Regions from separate parts of the Homo sapiens genome. Here region 1 is linked to region 2. The links are contacts of gene promoters, found by promoter capture Hi-C in blood cells and fetal thymus (Javierre and others, 2016). All regions are on one chromosome and are shown on one strand. Each heading gives the region's core, a stretch centred on a gene start or on the middle of the fragment in contact. The rest is flanking DNA. Distances are from core to core; before and after follow the strand shown. Region 1 holds the start of LOC105374769 (a long non-coding RNA gene). Region 2 holds the start of VPS54 (VPS54 subunit of GARP complex).

Region 1 (4,287 bases), core at 1,166-3,665, 310 kb before region 2:
CCAAAGTGCTGAGATTACAGGCGTGAGCCACCGTGCACTGCGTAGAAGGATTTTTATTTAACCCCCCTATATAAGGTGGTCTGCTTTCCAACCTGGCTCTGGCATAACATCACATAACAAATAAGGAAGGAAATATAAATATTTAAACCCCAAATATATTTTCTTGCCATATCTTGAAATTGCCTGGCAAGGTTGTCTCTTGTGGGAAAAATCTATGGAGAATCTATAGAGATTCTATGGAGATTTCCCTTCCCCTCCCCTCCTTTTTCCTCTTTCTTTCCAGACCCAGGAGATACTCAACTAAGAGCCAGGTAACCTTTTAAGTGGGATAAGAAACATTTTACAACCTGCTCTCTCTGAAGTCTGCTGAAAGCTTCTTCAGAACAATAAAACTTGGTCACCACCATCCTTTATCTTAACCTAAACATTTCCTTTCTATTGGTCCCAGGTCTTTAGATAAACTCAACCAATTGTCAACCAGAAAACTTTAAAATCTACCTATAAGCTGGAAGCCCCCACCTCTCCCCCACCTACAAGTTGTCCCACCTTTCTGGAGCAAACCAATGTATTTCTTAACTGTATTTGATTGAAGTCTCACGTCTCCCTAAAATGTATAAAACCAAGCTGTGCCCTGACCACCTTGGGCACATGTTCTCAGGCCCTCCTGAGGGCTGTGTCATGGGCCATGGTCACTCATATTTGGCTCAGAATAAATCTTTGCAAATATTTTACAGAGTTTGGCTCTTTCTGTCAACAAGGAGTATTAGAGGGTACCTCTTGGAAGAGAACCTGGGTGCTGGGGGACAGGGGTGGGAAGGAGACCTATTTTTTACTATAAATCCTTTTGTTGGATTTCTACATGTATGTTCATTTCCTATAAAACGATAATTGTGTTTATTTTTAAAAGAAAAGCTCTTCAAGCAAATATGAGGGAAGAGAAGTACTTTCCCAAAGTGTGGTGGAAGGGAAGGGGGAGAGTTTGTGATGGGGTGGGGGTGATGGGCCTGAACTTCATCCAAGCCTCTGAGGACCCGAGGAGCAGAAACTTGTGGGGATGTGAGCTAGAAGGTGAAGCCCACCGGTTCCTAGGTGACCTCTCTCTGACTTCATGGGCCATGGAACAGGCTGTCTCCGTGGTAATCTCAACAATGCTCAAGGCAGTCAGTGCCTGGCAACTTTGGACTTAAGAGTATCCGGTAGGTGCAAAACATCAGCCAGGCACTTGGTGCCCAAAGCCTTTGATTACACCCCAGCTGGACATCTAGAGCCTGGACGTCAGCTTGGGGAAAACCACTTCTTATGCAGAAAGTAAAGCCCAGCAAAGGCCACCAGGTATTCCTAACAGGAATACACCTAACAGGGCCTTTCCTCCCCCTCTTCCCAGCCCCACCAACTCCTTCCCCACTCTTTGCCCTACAGGGAACCTCTGCACGGCCAAGCTAGGATATTGGGTTTCTGGACTCTTGCTAGAACTTCTCTGAGTCATTCATTTTCTTTTTATTTATATATACTGTGTTGCCTCAACTATATTGCACCATTTAGTCTCAGGTCTCTGGGAAAGAGAGGATCTCACAACAGAAACATTTTTCCAGAAAAACCCTGAGAGGGGGCTGGCCTCTTTGAGGGCTTAAATGTCTCTGCGACGTCACAGAGGCATGCCAATTTCTGTCTTAGTCCATTCGGACTGCTCTAACAAAAATAGCACAGACTGGGTGGCTTAAACAGCAGGCACTCTTTTCTCACAGTTCTAGAGGCTGGAAGTCCAAGATCAAAGTGCCAGCAACAGGCCTTGGGAGGGCCTGCCTCCTGGTTCATAGATGGCCATCGTCTCCCTATGTCTTCACACGGTGGAAGGGGCAAGGAAGGCTTCCCCACACACCTGCCCTTTACTCTGCGGAGCCCAGCTTCCTACTGCAGTAAACTCTCACATGGCCAAGAAGGTAAAGGTCTGCTCAGGGCATTCACCTCCTTTCAGTGGTTCTCCACATTCAGCCCAGATAGACTCAGCCAACAGGAAACCCATTAACCAAAAGCTTGTGTTCTGTTTGGCCTCTTACACATCAAAGGGAACATAACAGTGAAAATTATAATAAGCAACAATGATCATCATCATTTCCAAGAGACAACATCAGTGCCAGCAGTTCCAATGAGACCCTGGGGTGTCAGTCACTGTATCTGCAAACAGAAAATGCAACTCACCTGCCTCTCCAGGCATCAAGAGTGCTCATAACGCTTAGAAAACTGTAAATAGCTTATAACTGCCAGTTGCTGCTATTGTTCATAAGTGCTTTGGGGTCACAGCTCTCGAAATAATGAGAAGGTGTGCTCTCGGCAATGAAATTAAACAGGCATTTCAGGGCAACCTCAGCTCAGATCCCTGGAGAAAAAAAGAACCTACAGCTTACCTCCAGAGGGGCACTGAGGATCATGTTTCACCCTGAGAGGGGGCTGGCCATGGAAGGAAATGACCTGAGGTCGGGGTGGGCCTCCATTCTGCGGGAGAGGGCAGGGAAGATGCTTGGCTGCTCTCACAAAGGAGCTTCTAGGATCTGCCTCTTTTTTTTCCTCACCTCCTCCTAAGGGAAAAAGTTGTTTTCCTTCCTGCGCCTCAGGGCAGAGCAGAAGTTGAAATGGACTACTTGTTCCTAATATTATTTACAGTTCAGCAAAGGACTTGGGGTCTCCAGCCTCAGGTCTAGAAACTCCTTCCACAGCCACACCCTGAAAAGGACTAGGTTAGCAGCAAAGCTGGGGCTCCTGAGATAGTATGCGATCTTCTGGTGGCGCTTTAAGCTTGTGGTATAAACTGAGGTGGTCTCAGGTCTCTGGGAAAGAGAGGATCTCACAACAGAAACATTTTTCCAGAAAAGGGCGCAGCTTTAGAGTTGCCTTAATAACATGGGATCTAGCGCCACCTAGTGCCTGCTGCGGAGCTTGACATGGGTCTTGCTCTGATAAGGTGGTTTTGGTTTTTTTGGAAATTGGCTTTAACCAAGAGAGAGACCGAAATGGAGAAACACGTTTTCTGCACACAGGGCTGTCCTCATGCCCACGATGAGGGACTGAGAGTTTGGTGGAAGAAGCTGAAAAGCTACAATCTTAATGTGTCACGGACGGGGGTGTTGGGTGAGGGGATGGGGGAGTCTTTCTCTTGGAAGGAAGCTGGGGTGACTCACAAGTAATATTTAGAGTCTTAGTCCCAGAAGATTGGCTTGGATTTGTCTGCATGAATATTTTTGCTCACACTAGAAAAAAAATACTGGTGCTATTTTATGACTTCTATGCTTTTCAAACTAGTTTCTCAGAGCTCTCCCAGAGCCAGCATAGGGGCTGCTTACAAAAAGCCCTTGGAAGCTGCTTCACTGTGGAATCCACTCCCGCTCCTTGCTACTGCCTACAGGACAAGCAGCCCTCCTTTTTTGTCCTGCCACTGTCTGGCTGCCCTCTAACCCTCTACTAATTAAAGCCACCATTTGCTATTTGTTTAACGTGATTCATTTCAACCTCAGAACAGCCAAGGCAGTGGATATTGGTAATCTCAACTGATCTTTAGGGAGGTTACAGGACTTACTCAAGATCTTTCAGCTCATAAGCAGAAGTGGGATTTGAACCCAGAGTTATTGAGCTCCAAAAAATTTGTTCATTTCACTACAGTACTCCATCTGCACTGCTAGGGGTAGTGGCTATTGCAGAGGATGCTACAATGTCCAGGAGGTTCCAGGAGGTTCTTGAGGAGACAAAGAACCTCTGAACTAGAGGACTTCTAGCTTGGAGGACACTTCCTGCTCTGGGCCTGTCCCTGTGACTCCAAGGCCTGGCTCGATGCTTGGTGTAAACACCTCCCTCCTCACAGCATCTGCCCTCCCTCAACACAGACATTTCCTCAGCCTACACTTCTCCACCCTTGGAAACCACCCCAGAGGAATAATGAGAGCAAAGAGCAGGGCAGGGAGTTGGCAACTCTGTAGAATGCCAGGAGAATCGTGGATTTGTCTGACTTCTGGGCTTTGGCCTCATCTGGTGGAAAACTGTGAAAATTCCCTACTGGCTCCTCCCTTTCCTTCCCTCCAGGCCCCTCCACCATTCTCCACCAAATAGACACACCTCCAGAAGAAGGTTAAGTAAGGCTACTCTCTGGATGCCTCTGAAACAAAGTGGTTTGCTTAAATGTACAGATTCAGAAATAAAGTTTAAATGGGGCAGCAGGCTGCAGTGGGACCCACACCCTGACCTCCATAAATGGATAAATGTTCAGGCTGCTGGAAGACCATGGAGGTGGTTTGGGGG
Region 2 (4,377 bases), core at 1,691-4,190:
AGTAAACATAAACATAGCCCTTTTATAGGTGTTATGGCATTAGAAAATTTGCCATTCTCCCTCTAATTAGAACATATAACCTTGATGGACTATCACTTTTCATGTGATTGGTCGGTAACAGATATAATAAATATGCCAAATACAGTGTTAGTGACATGGTAGCTAAATATTTTCTTCCTGATTCCTTTTTTTGAAGGCAATGATGGAATCTTAACTCCTATCCATTTCTTAATTTTGTATTAATTTCTTAATTTTCTATCATCTGTGCTTTCTGGAAATGTACACTAATAATATATCTATACCTATTTATTTGTGATTTGGCTTTTAGCTCTCATACTGACTGAAATGATTCAAGTGATAGCAAGTGAACATAGTAATTAATTTGAAATTTATCTAGGTTTAAATGAAATTGCTTGCCCAGTTTACACACTTTAAAAAAATTTTTGCAAACCTGATCATCAGCATTTACTTTCCTGTTTAGATTCAAGATTATGAATTGTTCTGTGGAAAAGTAAAAGTAAAAGTAAACATTGAGCTGGATCTCTGAAAGAACTAAGCACGACACTCAATGTGTATTTTCTTCCTATGGTATGTTATCAACAGATGGATAATGAGGAAGCAAACCAGACTGTCTTGTTCTAGTGTCTGGGAGACAACTGACGGCTATCATTTAGTCCAAGTGCCAAGTTGGAATCTTTTCTGGAACAAGGTGGGGTATAAACACAAATATTTTTTTAAAGGCCAAACCAGCCAGGCTTAAGGAAGTTTTTGAACTGTTGTTGACTTCCTGAGGGGGGTCAAAATATAAGAATTTGCTAAATCCAATTCCTAGCATAATCTATGAACTGATTCTAGACATAAAGAAAAATTATTTTCCTTTCTGGCCTTAGATAAAACTTGGTTAATCCTCTTGTTAATATTTTCACAGTATAAACACATCTTTTTTAATAAAAAATTTTTAAACTGACAAATAATAATTATATATATTTATAGGATCCAATGTGATGTTTTGATATATGTACACACTGTGGAATAACTAAACCAAGCTAATTAACATATCTTTCACCTCACCTACTTTTTTTTTTTTTTTTAAGAGATGGTGTCTGGCTATGTTGTCCAGGCTGGACTCAAACTGCTAGTTTCAAGGCATCCTTCCACTTCAGCTGAGACTACAAGTGTGGGCCACTGTACCCAGCTTATTTTTTTTATGGTGAGAACATTTAAAATGTACTCTTGGCTGGGCGTGGTGGCTCATGCCTGTAATCCCAGCACTTTGGGAGGCTGAGGCAGGTGGATCACGAGGTCAAGAGTTTGGAGACCAGCCTGGCAAATATGGTGAAACCCCGTCTCTACTAAAAATACAAAAATTAGCTGGGCGTGGTGGTGCGCGCCTGTAGTCCCAGCGGCTCGGGAGGCTGAGGCAGGAGAATTGCTTCAACCTGGGAGGCAGAGGTTGCAGTGAGCCAAGATCATGCCACTGCACTCTGGCCTGGGCAACAGAGCCAGACACAGTCTCAACAAAACAAAACAAAGAAAGTACTCTTTTAGCTATTCTGGAATATTAAATACATTGTTATTAACTGTGGTCATCGTGCTGTGCAATAGATCACTAAAATTTATTCCTCCTACCTGAAACTTTATACCCTTTGACTCACATTTCCCCTTTCCTCATCACCCTTTACCCCCCAGTCTTTGGTAACCACCATTCTACTCTGCTTCTATGTAAACTCATCTGGTTTTATAAGTGATCAGGGATTTAAGAGGACTTCACTCTTTTACAGTTAAATTTATTTCATATTGGGGAATGATTTTCTCACTTTGTTTCTTACATAATTTTAGAGGATTGAACTTAGAAAAATATAATGTAAGAGTTTTCTCTCAACTATTTTTGATGCTTCCTTACTTTTTGTCCTCTTTCCCCAACTTTAGCTCTTTGGTGGGGAAAATATTATTTCATAAAAGTTATGTTTGCAGTTTTCAAAGTGACTTCTTAGAAGTGAAACTTGGATCAACATTTTTTTCAACCCCCCAACTATAAGAGTTACATTTTCACTTTTGATTTGTTAAAACATACTATGTCTTATAAATGCTTGAAATTTATTTTTAGGCAAGAATTTCAACATTGAATAAAATCTTCCCAAAATTAAGTCACAAGCACTCAAAGGATTGAGGATCTTTTTCTTCCTAAAATATATGTGTGTGTGTGTGTGTGTGTGTGTCTTTATATTTATATACTAAGACCTTCCCTTTCTTGTGGACTGTGTTTTATTGGTTTAAAGTTGCAAGTCCTGTGAAACCAGGCTGAAGTCAGAATTAGAAGGTATTAATTATCATACACACTCCAAGTATCTCAGTCAAGTAACAGGAATAACTGATTACAGTGTCTGGGAGGAAGGCCTGGAACTTGGGGAAGACTTGGAGGGGAGGACTGGATGGGGAAAAGGCCTCAATAGAGAGAACTGGGTTGTTGCGGAGGGGTGACCTTTAACCTTTGGAAGGGCATTTACTAGGGAACAGCTGAAAAGCATTTACTTCGAGGGGGTGGGGGAGAGGAGGAATCTCGTGGAAGTATTTGCTTTAATAGGTCCCGGGTGATTTAGGGATGTTTCGAGTCGGTTGGTCTTGGGGGTGGCGAGGGCTACGCTGGAGGGGTCGCGTCCCAGTCCCGGGGAAGGCGGCAGGAGGTTTTCTGGGTGTTCCTGAAAACTGGGAGTTGGGGGGAAGGGTGGTGGGGAAAGTGGAATTCAGCGTGGATTTGTCTGCGTGTAGGACTATTAGAGGAGGCGCAGGGGAGCCACGCGGTGTATTCCCCGCCCCGAGAGAACTCTGGCTGCGCCTGCGACGGGCACGCCGGCCTGCGCCAAGGCCGCTTTCCCCAGGCGGCGGGCGCTCCCCCCGGCCCGGGCCGCGGCCCTCCCGCCCCGGCGGAGCCGCGCGGTGGATTGTGGGCTGGGGGCTGCGGCGGCCTCCGGCGCTGTCTCCCCGCACCCGACCGGGCCGAGCCGGCTGGGCCGGCGGGGTGAGGGAAAGCAGTGGAGTCGGGAGCAGAAGCGCTAGAGGCAGTGGTCGTGGCGCGGCGGCGGCGGCTCCCCTGGAGGCCGGGGATGTGGGAGAGGCGGTGGCAGCAGCGGCGGAGGCGGCGCTGCGGACCCGGGGGAAACTGCTGGCTGACAGGACACCCGGGAGAGACGTGAGGGAGCCGCCGCTGCCACCTCTCACCCCTGAGTGAAGCTGGGCTCGAGAGGGCGGCCCTGTGCTCCCCGGGCCGACTGGCCAGCGGGCGCGGGGCGGGGGCGGGAACCCGGGCTCGGGCCCGGCCGGGCGCCGGGCGGCGGCGGCCGTGGAGCAGCAGCCTCGGTGCGACGTGGAGGGCTGGAGGCGGCGGCGATGCACTAGGCCTCGCTCAGGGCGGCTGCCCCGGGACCCGCAGGTAGGTGTGCCCCGCGGCCCCCCGCGCGTCTCAGCCCACTCTCACCCCGACCTACAGCGGAGAGAGGGACCGAGACCCCACCCCCTCGGCTCTCCTCCCCAGCCCCAAACGGACCGAGTTTCGGTCACAGCTGACCGGCACTGAAGCTTCCATGCTCCTCTCCGCCACTTCCTTTTTTTTTTTTTTTTTTCCTTTTCACTCTCCCTCCGGGATCGGGGCTGGCAGCTGTGTTCCCTGCCTCCTGTCAGCGACCGCAAACGCCGCTCTTGCCCCTCTCTTATCTTTCCGGGATCCCAGCTCTGGAACTTCCATCACCCCCTTAGACGCTGCCCCCAAACTTTCCTTTTCTTTTTCCAGCCAGGCCCTTAGTCCTATTGGATTCTACTGGAATCGTTAAAACATTTGTTTGTTTTTCTCTCCGGGGAAGGCTAACCCAAAGAGTTACTCAGTATTTTGCATTTTGGCAATGTAGCTTGAAATAATTTGTGCAATAATTTTCTTCAGTTCTGCCTCCTTCCATCTCTGCATAGACAGAAAGGGCAGGCCCTCTCTGCCGTTTCTGCTCTCCCGTCGTTGACTTGGGAACTTTGGCTTGCCAATTATAATTAGCCGTTTGGTCTGTTCATGTGTTGAGTTCAAGATGGTATTTTTAGCATTTTGACTGACAGGCGTTTCAAAAAAAAATTTTTTTCTTCTAACCAGCTTTATTTTTTGGTCTTTATTGAGGCTCTTTCGAAGAATTAAATTGTTTGGACTGTTTTTGTTTTTAATTGGCTGTATTTCTGATTTGTCAAATCAAGGGCGGTCTTAATACTAAACGCCTTTAAGTAATACCGTGATAAATTACTTGTAGTATACCGAGAAATATTACTGCGATAACCTAAACTGCAGATTTTGATGTACATTCACTTTTATAAATCCGAAGGGGAGTTCTAATTGGAAAAAGC

What was found. Contacts are between HindIII fragments. The CHiCAGO score rates a contact against its expected background, and 5 or more counts as called.
Region 1: a fragment that was not itself captured here is called in contact with the fragment with the promoter of VPS54 in region 2 in 1 of 17 cell types (non-activated CD4 T cells); the score reaches 5.4 in non-activated CD4 T cells.

Annotation. Positions count from the first base shown.
Region 1 is chr2:64,329,678-64,333,964 of GRCh38, reverse strand. LOC105374769 (a long non-coding RNA gene) reads left to right here and starts at 1,186. Exons shown (of 3, transcript NR_187908.1): 1 at 1,186-1,332; 2 at 1,746-1,940; 3 at 3,298-3,484. The HindIII fragment of the contact is 760 bases long and covers 2,036-2,795 here.
Region 2 is chr2:64,017,991-64,022,367 of GRCh38, reverse strand. VPS54 (VPS54 subunit of GARP complex) reads left to right here and starts at 2,940. Exons shown (of 23, transcript NM_016516.3): 1 at 2,940-3,430. RefSeq lists a silencer at 2,817-3,526 and an enhancer at 3,687-3,756. The HindIII fragment of the contact is 5,022 bases long and covers 1-3,578 here.